Regions from separate parts of the Homo sapiens genome. Here regions 2, 3, 4 and 5 are each linked to region 1. The links are contacts of gene promoters, found by promoter capture Hi-C in human tissues and cell types (Jung and others, 2019). All regions are on one chromosome and are shown on one strand. The core of a region is centred on a gene start or on the middle of the fragment in contact, and the rest is flanking DNA. Distances in the headings are between cores, read along the strand shown.

Region 1 (2,872 bases), core at 141-2,640:
TGTTAAAGGAACAAAAATAAAATAATATTAAAGATACTTCTCCCTCTTTTTAAAAACAAGCATTAAATTACTGCTACAAATCTCAGTGTTCCAAGAACGTCTGATAAGTACACTCATAATTGGTCTATTAGCTTGAATTTTGGAGGGTTTAAAAAAAATGGAGTGGCTTATTATGTGGGTCTGAGGCTTTGGAATCAGAGTGCCCAGATTCCAACGCTAATTCCACCAACCTCACCTACGTGATCATGGGCAAAGTTTTTTACTTTTTGAGCTTCATTTATCTCAACCATAAAACAGTGTAATAATTATACCTTCCTCATGCTGGGATGATTAAATGAAATAATTCATGTGAAGAAGTTGGCACAGCACAGCATGGAGCATATAGGAAGTAAGTAATTAGTGTTGGATATGAAATTATTATTGAGGTTATAACTTGCATTCAATGGCCAAAATGAAGGAGTAGCTCGCCCCCACTTGTAGCAGACACTCCTAGAGATGTACTTGATTGATAAGAGTAGAGAGAAAAGCTTTACTCACACAGTCTTTAACTTTAGAACTAGTAAGGGTTGTAAAGGCCAGCTAGTACAAGTCCTTAGTGTTCAGATAAAGAAACAGGACCGGGCACAGTGACTCAGGTCTGTAATGCCAGCATTTTGGGAGGCCAAGGTGGGCAGATCACCTGAGGTCAGGAATTCGAGACCAGCCTCACCAACATGGTGAAACCCTACCTCTACTAAAAATACAAAAATTAGCCGGGCATGGTGGCACATGCCCGTAGTCCTAGCTACTCGGGAGGCTGAGGCACGAGAATCGCTTGAACCAGGGAGGTGGAAGTTGCAGTGAGCCGAGATCGTGCTGCTGCACTCCAGCCTGGGCGACAGAGCGAGGCTCTCTCTCAAAATAAATAAATAAATAAATACATAAATTAAATTAAATAAACAGATGAAGGAACAGGATGGTGACTTCTCAAAATCCACACAGGAAGTCTGAAACAGAATCAGGACTAAAACATAGCTCTTTGCCCTTTGGTCTGGTGGGCTTTCTATTATACTGCACTGTACCTTAAATAGCAATGCAGTGAACAAAACATCCTGGGATTGAAGAGGCAAGAATTGTCACAAACGCTTAGAAAAGACAAAAAGATCTCTGAAAGAGAGTCAGTGCAGCAGCGTCTTAGATCAAGTCCCAGCCTCAACTGCATACACTTTCTAATACAGCCGCGCCCAATTCACCCCAGTCCCCCAGAACCTTGCCTTAGATTACAAAACCTTCTCAACACAGCAGTTCTATACCTTCAGTTCATTATTCTTATTGAAAAAATCTAATTTTAAGACAAACCCAAGAGAAATGTTGATACGTTACCTTAAATCATGCTGCTGCAGATTTGACTGAAGGGGAATTTACTTTTGCTTTCACTTTCTGTTCTAAGATTCAGAACTTTGCATGCTTCCTGAGTACAGTAAGTACTAGCTGGTTCATTATCACGCAGGTGTGAATGGAGCTTAGGATAAGAGCTTTATTTCAAAAAGGACAAGAAACTTTTTGTAGAATGCACAAATAAGTGGCTTTGGAGTAGAAGCCAAACCATGGAAAGAAAGGATCGCCAGTGGCTGCCACTTCTGCTGTTATCACCTCCCTTCCCTTGTCCCCAGGGTAAAGCCTTCAGAACATAGTTTATGTTTTTTAGTGCCAAGTTGTTGTCTTAGGAATTGATCTTGAACTTCTCCTTGTGCTGCATCCTCAGTGCTATGAAATCTGACTTCTGCCCATCCACCCCACAAACGTAACTCCAAGCTTACCAAACACCTCCCGGGCAGCTTCTGTGATCTTTATCAGAGGTGATTATTCTCAGATTTTCCATGTCTGTAACCACCCTGTCTCCTTGGGCACGAGGGGACTGTATCTCATGCTCATCTCTTTGATCTCTCTTTATCTGCCTGTTTGAGTTGGGCTTCAACTTCCTCTCTGCTCTGAATACAGACCTTCCACAAAGATGAAACCTCTGGCCTTTGCTCTGCCCTCTCTTTATCCTTTCCAGTACCCAGATTTAGCATTTATCCCCATTCATCCCACATTGCTCCCATTGTGATCCCTCCTTCAAGGGTTCTGCTGCTGTAATTCCAACAGCCTGATGGACCAACAGTACATGGATGTCTAACCCTAACCTGAACCAGAACCCTGACAACTCAAATAGTGTTTTCTTTCCCCAGATAAACACCCTTTGCTTTATATGCTTCCAGCCTTCTTCCATTATCTAGGATTGAACCATATAGTTAGTTACTTTGATTCTGTCCCTCTCCAATTTGTTACCAAAGCCTGTTGATTTTTCCTTTTCTTTTCTTTTTTTTTTTTTTGAGATAGGGTCTCACTCTGTCACCCAGGTTGGAGTGCAGTGGTGCCATCCCAGCTCACTGCAGCCTTGACTTCCTGAGCTCAAATGATCCTCCCACCTCAGCCTCCCAAGTAGCTGGGGCTACAGGCATCCACCACTACACCCAGCTAATTTATTATTTTTTTTTTATAGATGAGGTCTTCCCATGTTGCTCAGGCTGGTCTCAAACTCCTAGGCTCAAGTGATCCTTCTGCCTCAGCCTCCCAAAGGATTGGGATTACAGGCATGAGACACCGCAACTGGCCTTTTTGAATCATTTTCAATCTCTTTCTATCCAACTAAGAAAAAATCCCACCGCTTATTAAAGTAGTCCAGGTCCTCATCCTTCCTCACAATGGCCTTCAATCATGTCTTCCCAGCTTCTCAAGCTCAGCTTCTTGCAGTTACTTGTACGATGCCACCAGATTAATCCTTTCAACTACTGCTCGACCATGCCTCCCCCACTGCTCAAGATCTTTCCTTGATTTCCCCATTTACAGA
Region 2 (2,872 bases), core at 223-2,722, 250 kb before region 1:
AAATATTTTCAAAAAAATTAAAAAGCTCTGTAATGACCAATTCTCAACTTGACCATTCAATATGTATTTTATTGATTAACTCAAGTATCCCCTCACTACTTTTAACATTTTCCCAATTTCTTTCCCAAATCACTTCTTAAATTACTAAACACTGCAGTTTTTAAATATACATGGCAACCAGTTCCTTAGGAGTTGCCAGAATTTGCCTGAACTATACACCATGAAGCTGATCAGTGACCTACAGAGGAGGTGCAGACACCTAGTGCTCTAGTAAACATTTAGAAAGTGGCTATACAATGATTTTGCCTCCAGATCACACTCTGAGATACTCCAGACTCACTGAAAAATGTCACTGTCCAGAATTTTAAAGCAGATCCAAGAATATATTCAGGATAATGGCAAAGGGCATAGATGCCGTGTTACACAAAGCATGTTTGAAAGAGCAAAAACTATTTAATCTAGAACTTGAAAAAACATGAGTGTTGACTGTTTAGTGTACTTTTCATATGCATGTGAGAGATGCCACCTGAAAATGGCTTAAGGAAAAAGCAGGTGGGTTGGTTAGATAACTTCAAGTCCAATCAAGGATCCTGGATTATGGGCATAGCTGAAACCAGGAGCTCAAACTATGTTGTCAAAACTTAGCCCTCCTCCATCTCTTTACTGAACCGTTCTCTGGGCTTTCTTCTCAGCCAGATTTTCTTCTTGCTTGGGCAGCACCATGCTTACCTCCTACGGCTCCAGAAACCCCACTGAAAACAGGAAACTTTCAACATTTTCAACACATTCATTGTCCCTAAATGGCTTGGCTATGGCCAAATTCCCACCTGCACCCCTCGAGACCACATGATTGTTCAAGGAAAATCTTGGTGCTGTTTCCACAAGCAGGGAAGTGAATGCCAGGCAAGCAAAACAACAGATGTCTTATACTGCTTTTAAACCTGTGGTGGGCTCCCATGTGGATAAGGAAATAAACTTTTTGAGGCCTCAGAAATGAGAAGTAGACCCTCTGCATGAACCTTACAGGAAAGCAGATTTCAGTTCACTCCTACAAGGACCTTTTCACAGAACCATTAGCAGTTGAAATAGGCTGCCTCAGGTTGTGGCAAGTACTAGGTCCTTCCACATGTTCAGGTACAGGCCAGATGAGCAGCTGTCAGGAATGCTGGCGAGGAATTCCTGCATTAGGCAGGGCTTTGCCTACATGACCTATAAGGTCACTTTTGACTCTACAATTCTATTATCCTTGTTAATTTCTACAATTTAATTTGCAGTACAGGATAAACAAACCAATCTAATTTGATCTGGAACTTCTGCAGGCTATCACAGGTCATTTAATCTAAAACATATGGCTCTAGCCATTACTATGTTTTCTGAAATACTCGAACAGACCTTGTTCTTAACAAGGTCTTCATGTTATTAGTTTCACTCATGGATTTTTCCAGCCTCCTGCTTATTCTACAACTGCCTTTCATTCTCGTTTAGACTGGGGTGGAAGGAGCATGAAAGAGTTCCCTTCTTTCTGACTTTCTCTTCTTAAATCTTTGCAGGCTTAAGAATCTATGAGAAATGAGAAAGAGGACCACAGATAATCACAGCTCTGGATAAAGTCTATTAAGACAAATGTTCAAAGCAGAATGAGATTTTTAATTTTTATATTAAAAATTAATTTATAGAGTAAATTTGAAATACTGCTATATTGTTTTAATTAGGGTACCAAAACCACTTCTTGAGCCTTACTCATTAAGAAATATACACATTTGCATTTGTAAATAACAGGTTCAATTTGTATATTTTAACATACTTTAAATATATTTAAATAAAGTATATTCTTTCACAGCTAAAAGCCCCTCCACCCCACTATCCACATACCCAGCTCTACTTAAACTGGAACTGTCATGCTACAGAATCCAGCTTGCAAATAAAATTTTGGTTTTGCACCAGATTATGTCCATCCTTAATAACTGATGGTGTTTCTTGTCTTTTTCAGTGAACGTTGTGTCAATGTTACAGGAATTTTGGGAAAGCAAGCAGCAGCAGAAGGCTGCATTCCCAAGTGAAGGTGTGGTGGTCTATGAGTCACTGCCAGCTCCTGGGCCTCCCTTTGTGAGTTACGTGACCCTCCCAGGGGGAAGCTGTTTTGGCAACTTTCAGGTAAGAAGTAGCCATTAATTTGTCAGTGAAAGTTCATTGGGCTAAAATAAAGTAAACCTTTTTGTAAACTGGTAACATTACAAATTTTCTTGGAAATAGTGAACAAAGTTGTACCATATCCTATGAATGAAAACAACCAGAAAGGAATTAAATTTGCCAATATCCTTTATAAATACCCTTTTAATTGAGTAAATTATCCCTCAATTTTCAATAACTGGCAAAGATGTTTTATTTCTTGCTTATGGATACCGTGAAACTCATAAGCAATCAAGTTTCTTAGTTTGTCAACTAAAAAGCCCAAGGCAAATTTTCAGGTCATTTTTTTGTAGTGTAAGTCTACAGAACTTAATATCATATAATTTTTAAGACTAACGTCATACCTGATACTATTTATATTTTAACCTTTACTCTCCCTTTGAACTTATGAAGTCACTCATTTATTGTATCCTGTTACCAGGTGTATCTGTTTTACATGGTTTCAAATCCTTCACTGAGTGAGGGAAGGGTATAATTTAATAAACAGACCTACAAACCTATGCTGCCTCTGGGAAGTCAAAGAAGGATTCACAAGAAATATAAATGTGAACTGAGGCATTCAGTTGATGATGTCTTGGCCAATGGGAAAGGGAAAAAATGACACTCTTAGCATAGGGAACCACAGCATTTTCAGAATTAGGGAAGCATAAGGGTTAATGTGTGGCAAGGAACGGTTGGGAGA
Region 3 (2,872 bases), core at 223-2,722, 220 kb before region 1:
TGAAAGGGATGCTTAAAAACTTCATAATCAAGATAAATAATATTATAATGCATTATTTTTTAAACTCAAAATTCATGCCAAAAATTCACGATAAACAAAATATCAGAATTATAAATAAAAGACCATGAACATGTATAATTGGCCCCACTCACTTTAAACCTTGCCTCACCTGCCTCACCTGCCTCACCTGCCTCACCTTATGAGGCTAACTTGTTTTTCTGTTGGTGCAGCTGGGCCCCTCAGGCTTCCAGATTACCCCACAAACAAAACACCACACCCCAAAAGACTTCCGTGAGGACTATGACAGACCCTCACAGGAAAAGACAACACTAATTTCCTTTATTTAAAAAAAAATTTATATATATTCTTTTTTTTTTTTTTTTCTGAGACAGAGGTCTTACTATTTCGCCCAGGCTGGGCACAAACTCATGATCTTCCTGCCTCAGCCTCCCAAGTAGCTGGGACATTCCACAGCACCTGACTACACTAACTTCCTTTAGAGTAACAGAGCTTCTCCAGGTAGAATATGAGCCAGCGAACACCAGGCAGCAAAGAATCATGGGGAAACTAGTAAGCAGAACTCCACAGCAGCCCTCTCCTTCCCACTCTGCAATCATGCAAGGATTTCCAATGGAATCAGTCAGAGGCATGCAAAGATTTCCTGGAGTTGAGCCAAGAGCTAATAGTTTTGGGAAAATGTGAAGAGAGTGAATTTGGTCTTATGAGGGGAAATAAAGAAGTGAGACAAAAAATATGTGAAAATATTTAAATATACTTTATATAATGATGGCAAGATGAATATCTCTACAGAGGACAAAAACTAGATGGGGATATAATGTAAGAAGTTGGAAAGGAGGTCATCTTCCCTAGGGAATGTTAAGAACAAAAGCAACACTGAGGAAGTGGCAGTTGTGTTACTGGAGAGAAAAAAAAAGCTGCTTCGTGATGGGATAGAAATTTAGACAAACCAGAGGTGGTGAGGAGGTTGACCTTCATCCTGGAGACGAAAGCAGTTCAAGTCTCTTTGGGGACATTTTTGAAAGATGAAGGTTGTCAAGGGGCATGAGAAAGGGTTTTGGTTCTGTTCACAGAAGAGTTGTGAATTCTAAAGTCTTAGGAGATTTTCAGGGTGGAATGATAGTCCCTTATGGGGCGGGGAGAGCAGTTAGTGTATAGATAAGAAAAAGAGCCCAGAAGACCCCAGAGGAAGAATAGTATGTTTCTAAGTCAACAGTTATCAGAGGATGGAATTAAGAGCCCTGTTAGCAATAGGCTGTTTCTCAAACTGGGCCACAAGGATGCAAGAACAATGCCAAGATAGATAGCTATAGGAAGCCACAAAATAAATCCAGTATATGTGTCTGAGTTCTCAACTTTACATAAAGATTTAGGGTTGTGGGGGTCAAACGGAGGAGTGGAGTGATATTTATTTTCTTTTTTGTGATGGAGTCTCACTCACTTGCCGAGGCTGGAGTGTGGTATCGCGATCGCAGCTGACTGTACTCTCCGCCTCCCAGGTTCAAACAATTTTCCTGCCTCAGCCTCCCGAGTAGCTGGGATTACAGGTACCCACCACCACACCTGGCTAATTTTTTTATTTTTAGTAGAAACAGGTTTTCACCATTTTGCCCAGGCTGGTCTCCATCTCCTGACCTCAAGTGATCCACCTGCCGCAGCCTCCCAAGTGCTGGGATTATAGGCACAAGCCACCACACCTGGCCAATATTTATTTTCTCTTTTCTAAAAATGGACATACACAATAGAATGCAAAATTTGAGTGGATCTTTATAAGACATAAAACCAAAAAATTTTTCTTATTTACAAATATTGGCCCTCCTGTTACATCATAGAGACTGGTTCCCAAATATTAAAACAATCTTCCCATTCATTTTTATGGCTTCAAAGTATTCGGTGAGTTGGTTTGTTAGTATGGTAGGAAGGGCAACACAAATTTGCCCTTCTCAGCCACTGGGGCCACTTTGATGGAAAGCCTGAGAGGAACAGCAGTGACAGCCAGATTGGACGAGATTTGGTTTCTCGAACAAAGCACTCCCACTTTTTCAAATTAGCATACTGACGTGATGAAGTGAAAGTCTGAACAAGGGCAGGAAGATGTGGAGGAGAGGGGCCAGGAGGGGACAGCCATCCCTGGGCACTGGACCGAGGACCCTGTGCAGACAGGGAGGTCTCCATCTGGGGGCGGGCAGAAGGAGCAGCTCAGCTGGTATTCATGTGTGTTTTAATTAGCAGACACAAGTGGTTTTGCTTTTACTGAGGTGTCTGTGGGCTCTCAGAGTACTTACTGTGCAGTGAACTTAGACAGAATGCCAAACTGGATCTCTGACAGAAAAGAAGAAAAACATTTCATTCCAATGGCAATTTTAGACATGAGAGAAGTGCTATTTGCTCTTCTAATAATCTGATAGCTTTAAAATTTACCAAATAATTTTAAGATGCCTAAAACCTGACTATGAGTCTCCTGATTTTCATAAGAGAACCTCTTCCCAAGCAAGCAGATGTAAAGACAGTTAATTGAAGTCAGCTTTTTTGTTTTGTTTTAAGAGATAAAATATTATGTTGCCCAGACTGGTCTCAAACTCTTGGGCTCAATCAATTCTCCTGCCTCAGCCTCCCAAGTTGCTAGAACTATAGGCACACACCACCGTGCCCAGCTAAAAGCTTTTTTGAATGGACAGTAGGACATCTGTCTATGTTAAGTTTTCATAACTATTTTTTAAGACATGAAAGTTCCTTGATCATATAGAGTTATTTTTCAATAATTTCAATAACCACAGGCTATTAATCCACAATAGATGTATCTCTGACCAAAAAAAACTATAACTGAAATGCAAATAATTTCAGTGGAAAACTT
Region 4 (2,872 bases), core at 186-2,685, 200 kb before region 1:
GGAAGGCCACCCTGCCTCTAGTAGAACAGCTACAGCAAAAGGAGAACTTAAGCACAAACATTAAACTGCCCATTCAAATAGTGCTGAGAGTTTCTCTTTTCCTTTTATGTGCCTTCTTCCCTTGCACCATTCTATTTGGTTATGCCACTGAACATTTTTGTTTCTATTCTTTGATTCCCACCAAACCATTGTGCTGTGCTTTGAAATAATATGCTACAGATTTCCACATTCTATACCAGCCCTTGTGTCCCACACCCCTTCTCTCTATATATATCCCCTCTGCCTACCAAGAAAGGGGTGGGCACTGAACAATAAAGAAAAGGGACACAAAAAGAGAAAAGCTCACATGGTGCCCATGTGCTGGTTAAGTTCTTGTTTTGTTTTTCTCAGTGGGGTTGGCAAATGATGTCTCAAACCCATGTGTCATTAAATGAATCAGCTCCTCCACCCTCACAATAGATGCTACAGATCCCTTGACGAAATTCACTTGGTCCCACAAGAGAGCCAAGGCACACAGCTGTGCTTCCTCTCTGTCATTACAGAGGTACAGAGTTTGCAGCAAAGGTGACATTTTAAATCTGTTAGCACCAAGGAACAAAGACAACTGTGATAATTTCCTTCCCCCTCTTCTCCCCTGGTTTCCCCTGATACAAATGAGCACCGACATTCTGATTAATTAGACTTTGAGCATTTAAAACAAAATACATTTCTGTATGCAGGAAAGTTATTCCAGTTTGCCTAAGTAATTAAAAGAGAAAGCTTCAGCATTATAATACCTGAGCAGTTCAAACTGAGTAAACCCTGATACAGGAAAACCTGTCTGATGAGAAAGATTTTCTTCCTATCAGCAAAGGAAGTTTATTTCTCAGGGGCAGATTTAATTACTTTATGCAAATATCATCAGCAAACGATCCAATGCCACTATGCTCTCTGCCCAATAATCTATATCATCTCCCCTGTTTAATATCCAAATTGTTAGTATGTGTATGTGTATATTCAGTCATGTACTGCACAGTGACCTTCCAGTCAATGTCAAACTGTACATATGCCAGTGGCGTCATAAGAATATAATGGAGTTGAAAAACTTCCATCACCTATGGAAGTCATAGCCATAATAACATCGTAGCACAATGCATTACTCCCATGTTTGTGGTGATGCTGGTATAAACGAACCTACCTTATAAACTTTAAAGTAAAAAAAAGTTACAGTAAGCTGAAGTTAATTTATTATTGAAGAAAGAAAAATTTGTGTTTATAGTGTAGCCTAAGTGTACAGTGTTCATAAAGTATTCAGTAGGGTAATGTCCTAGGCCTTCACATTCACTCACTGCTCACTCACTGACTCACCCCAAGCATCTTCTAGTCCTCCATGCATGTTACGTGCCCTACACAGGTGCACCAGTTTTTATCTTTTACGCCATATTTTTACTGTACCATTTCTATGTTTACATATAGAAATACCAACCATTGTGTTACAATTGCCTATAGTATTCAGTACAGCATGCTGTACAGGTTTGTAGCCTAGGGACAATATGCTATACCACCTAGGTTTGTGTAAGTCCACTCTACGATGTTTGCAAAATGACAAAATCTCAGAATTCTCCCCTTCATTAAGCAATATATTACTGTCTCTTTTCTTTCCTTGCCAGCTCTCTCCCTCTCTCTCTCTATATATAGAAGTAGATGTAGGAGAGAATTTACCACCTGGACACTTGAAGGAATTAATTATGTTTATAAAGATGGAAATGATTATAAAAGACATATTTAGATCAAATTGAAAACAAATAATCTACTTCAGTTAACCATAGATTAATGAGGGAGGAAAGTTAAACAGCAAATATGATCAAGTAATCCTCTACAGTTGAAAACTGCAATCTCATAAAACATTAACTCAGACGGTGCTCTAATTGAATGATATAATATAAATGCTTGCTATCTTTCATCATAGTCTACTTAAATTTTTTCTTTTTCTTTTACTTCATTATTTTATTTTATTTTTTTTTTTTTGTGAGACAGGATCTTACTCTGTGGCCCAGGCTGGAGTGCAGTGATGCAATTTCGGCTTACTACAACCTCTGCCTCCCGGGCTTAGTTAATCCTCCCACCTCAGCCTCCTGAGTAGCTGGAACTACAGGCATGCACCACAACACCTGGCTAACTTTTTGTAGAGACAAGGTTTCACCATGTTGCTCAGGCTGTTCTCAAATTCCTGGGCTCAAGGGATCCACCCACCTCGGCCTTCTAAAGTGCTGGGATTATGGGCATGAGCCACTCCACCTAGCCAAATTTTCTTAATTCCACACAATTAGAAGTTCTAATGTGAATCGTTTTACATAGCCTTGGTATGCCCCTGCCCTTCTGCCCAACTAAATTGTGACATAGTCACTCTACCACTTGTTAATTGTGACAAATTTATATTCCACAATGTACATTTTAAATTGTTTAATTTCTTTTACTTGTAAAATACATTTTACCAAAAAAACCTCACCCGCATATGCTTTTATCTGGATTCCTAATTTTAAAGATATCTGCAGAGTCATTTTACACTTGTCCAGTTGTATACAGCCAAATCAGAGATGCAATAGTAGATTGTCATCAACAGTTGTAATAGTAGATTGTCATCAATAGTTTTTGAGCATAAAATCAAATTCCACTCATAAACATAGGCGAACAAATAGAGTTATCTATGGCAAATATTCTTGTAAATGTTGTTATCAGAAACTTATTCTAATCCCAAAGTTATAAGGTAACAGTCACTAGAATTATTAATACAGACCTTTCCATTTTACTGGGAGTCTGCCAGCCTTTCCTAGCAAACAGACTTGGACAAAAACTCAGGTTTATGATGATAAGAGATAGAAGAAATAATAAT
Region 5 (2,872 bases), core at 165-2,664, 150 kb before region 1:
GGTAGAACTTTCCTTGTTTTACTGTGTCAGTAACTTTCTGGATACTGAGGAATAGAACAGAATTCCAAAACAGGGTTTTTGTCCCCATCTGTGTATCTTCAAAGTAGAAAAATTACTCATTGTTTTTGTAGATGGTTGGCATTTAGGTGAATATAATTTTGTAATAAATAACTACATACTGCCCAAAGACACTTCAGAAAAGATGGATGAAAAATACAGTCAGGCCCTGAGCTAACTAGAACTCCAAAGAGTGCAAACAACTTGGCAGCGATCCTGGCTTTACCTTGGCTTTTGCAAAAGCGGCAGAGCCCAAGCTTACAAGCTCTCTGAATGGGCAACAAAATGAGGTGCGGTTGTGCATGCTACAGCCACCATGTGAGACTTTTGAGGTTCTTCTCCATCCACTGGATATTCAACTGAATGACTTCCAAAGCCTCCTGGACACAACGAAGCCGGAAGGTTGCCTCTGACTGATTTTCAAAGAATGCCTGAACCTGTAAGTTTCACACAGAAGAATTTCAAAAGAAGAAAAGGACGATAAACCTCAGGTAACCCCAGCTTTTAAAATAAGCTTTAACTTAGTGATGGCTGTGCTGCTATCTTGAAAGCAGTAGAAAGAAGTACTTTAATATTCAAGGTATCTACATGGAGTTCCCAATCAAGTATGGTGATATCTGAAATGATTTTAAAAAGGAAATCTTTTTACTCCCACACAGATACATTTTTCTAACTTAAAATGGAACCAAGGAGATGTTTAAGTAACAATAAATAAAGTAGAGTCCAAAGGCTTGGTGCTATGAATTCACCCCAAGAATGCAATTCTTCCAAACAATTTTATGACCACTTAAATTATTTGTATTAGGGAGACAAGGGAAGAGAATGGAATCAGATTTTTTCCTCATTATCATATATGCCACCCTCTAGAAGTAATCACAATGCAGAATCATTAGTACTGATAAAGGAAGACAGAGATAAGAGAAGGAATTAGCATGAAAATCCACCATCTCACTAAAACTGAGCAGCCTGGTCCGGGTGTGCGGAGGGTTGCCCAGTCTCTGTATTATCATTTTATAAAACCAACCTCAGATAAATGTGTCTTTGTTGAAAACAGGTAAGTTGATCCAGCAACAATATTTTGTATGGTATAGGACCCCAGAGGGAACCTGAAGAAACACAAAAACAAGAGCAAAAAGATTAGGCAGCTGCTGGTAAAGCGTTGTTCCTGAGTGCAAGGAAAAGTCTTTAATGCCAAAGCCAGAGTGGAATCCTCCTCCCGGAACTGCAACTGAGGAAACCGGGGTAGCCCTATGCATACTTATTGTCGGTGGGAAGGAAAGGTGGGCAGAAAAAGGGAAGAGTTCAGAACATGCAGACAATTAATCCGCTTAACATTGTCGAAGATCACACTGTACACCCAGAAATGCCATTATTGATTTAAAAGAGAGAAAGAAGCAAAAAACCTACATCTGCATCTAGCTGAATGTGAGTTCTTAACTGATGCCTTGGCAATGCAGAGGTATTTTCCTTTTTGTTTTTTTTTTTTGAGACGGAGTCTCGCCCTGTTGCCTAGGCTGGAGTGCAGTGGCACAATCTCGGCTCACTGCAAGTTCTGCCTCCCAGATTCACACCATTCTCTTGCCTCAGCCTCCCAAGTAGCTGGGACTACAGGCACCCGCCACCATGCCCGGCTAATTTTTGGTATTTTTAGTGGAAATGGGGTTTCACCGTGTTAGCCAGGATGGTCTCGATCTCCTGACCTCGTGATCCGCCCATCTCGGCCTCCCAAAGTGCTGGGATTAAAGGTGTGAGCCACCGCGCCCGGCCATACAGAGGTATTTTTCAATATGCATAGCTAAATGGTTGCTATGAAATAGTCTGTAGCCACGCTGAGCTAAGTAACCTGGTGCCAAGCAAGGCTAGGCTTAATTAGAACTTAGATGGAATGCTACTGTTAAATGATTCATGCTATGGAATTATGTTAACAAATGTGAAAATTTCCGGATGTTTCAGTTAAACTGTCATGGAAGTATTTTTCCTCTCACAGCAAATCCTAACTTCTGTGAGCCAAAACACTGGGAGCTTTTTTCAAATGCACAACTTGAGAATACTAAAAGTTAATAATTCTCTGAGAAACTTACTTCTGTACAAGCTTATTCCAGTTCTCTTTGACAAAATCCCATGCCAGTAAGTGTCCAGGAAAATGTCGACCCACTGTTCTAATGATAAAAGACAGCTTCTGTGTTCGGAAGTTATCTCCATTCAGGCTACTTTTCATTAACCTGAAGAGCAAAGCAGATTTAGCCTCCAAAATTATTATTCATGAAGAAGTGATGACTGAACTTAAATTAAAATTAGTATGGTTTCCTAATTAAAGCTGTGTAGCAAATTGAGAAATAACTGTTGCATTAGTCTACGGTTGATCTATAGATTGAAAATGTCATTTTTTTTAAATGAAGAAAGAACTCACCAATAAAATAGGCATTTACCTATATTGTCACATGACAATAAATAGTTTTTAAATAGTAAAAACATTTAGGAAATAAGTTCTGGTAGAATTTATTACAATTCGGGAGGTGGGTATTTTTTTCTGGTAAAAACCTTATTTGATTTGAATGGGCAGGTTAATTATATTACTATTCTTAAAAAAAACTAGGTCATTTGAATTATTTGAAAATTAGGATACATTTCAGAATATACTCTTATTAATGTTCGTAGCAAACATTTACTGACACTATGTACTAAATAATGTTCTAAGTCCTTGACACAACAATGCTATAAAGTAGGTATTTATTAATACTACCTAACTCAATTTTATAGTTGAAGAAACTGAGGTTATCTAATTGACCCACAGTCACACAGTAATAAATACCAA

What was found. Contacts are between HindIII fragments. The study calls those that stand out against the background at their distance.
Region 2: a contact is called between a fragment that was not itself captured here and the fragment with the promoter of ERAP2 in region 1, in 1 of the 25 tissues and cell types used here (spleen).
Region 3: a fragment that was not itself captured here is called in contact with the fragment with the promoter of ERAP2 in region 1 in 1 of the 25 tissues and cell types used here (dorsolateral prefrontal cortex).
Region 4: a contact is called between a fragment that was not itself captured here and the fragment with the promoter of ERAP2 in region 1, in 2 of the 25 tissues and cell types used here (aorta and dorsolateral prefrontal cortex).
Region 5: a fragment that was not itself captured here is called in contact with the fragment with the promoter of ERAP2 in region 1 in 1 of the 25 tissues and cell types used here (spleen).

Annotation. Positions count from the first base shown.
Region 1 is chr5:96,875,018-96,877,889 of GRCh38, reverse strand. It overlaps ERAP2 (endoplasmic reticulum aminopeptidase 2), which reads right to left and starts at 1,390. Exons shown (of 19, transcript NM_022350.5): 1 at 1,363-1,390. It also overlaps a transcript of ERAP1 not described here. RefSeq lists enhancers at 492-701, 1,072-1,281, 1,452-1,601, 1,622-1,751. The HindIII fragment of the contact is 2,321 bases long and covers 1,162-2,872 here.
Region 2 is chr5:97,123,748-97,126,619 of GRCh38, reverse strand. It overlaps LIX1 (limb and CNS expressed 1), which reads left to right. Exons shown (of 6, transcript NM_153234.5): 2 at 1,991-2,154. Among named protein-coding and RNA genes, the nearest start is that of LIX1, 17 kb to the left of the region's middle. RefSeq lists an enhancer at 1,645-2,844. The HindIII fragment of the contact is 8,097 bases long and covers 1-2,872 here.
Region 3 is chr5:97,098,405-97,101,276 of GRCh38, reverse strand. All of the region lies in intron 4 of LIX1 (limb and CNS expressed 1), which reads left to right. LIX1-AS1 (LIX1 and RIOK2 antisense RNA 1) reads right to left here. Exons shown (of 8, transcript NR_187470.1): 5 at 2,304-2,340. Among named protein-coding and RNA genes, the nearest start is that of LIX1-AS1, 26 kb to the right of the region's middle. The HindIII fragment of the contact is 6,743 bases long and covers 1-2,872 here.
Region 4 is chr5:97,076,739-97,079,610 of GRCh38, reverse strand. The region is part of intron 1 of LIX1-AS1 (LIX1 and RIOK2 antisense RNA 1); the gene reads right to left. Among named protein-coding and RNA genes, the nearest start is that of LIX1-AS1, 4.4 kb to the right of the region's middle. The HindIII fragment of the contact is 6,816 bases long and covers 1-2,872 here.
Region 5 is chr5:97,026,024-97,028,895 of GRCh38, reverse strand. It overlaps LNPEP (leucyl and cystinyl aminopeptidase), which reads right to left. Exons shown (of 18, transcript NM_005575.3): 16 at 2,139-2,279; 17 at 1,082-1,163; 18 at 1-494. The coding sequence ends at 363. Among named protein-coding and RNA genes, the nearest start is that of LIX1-AS1, 46 kb to the left of the region's middle. The HindIII fragment of the contact is 3,542 bases long and covers 1-2,872 here.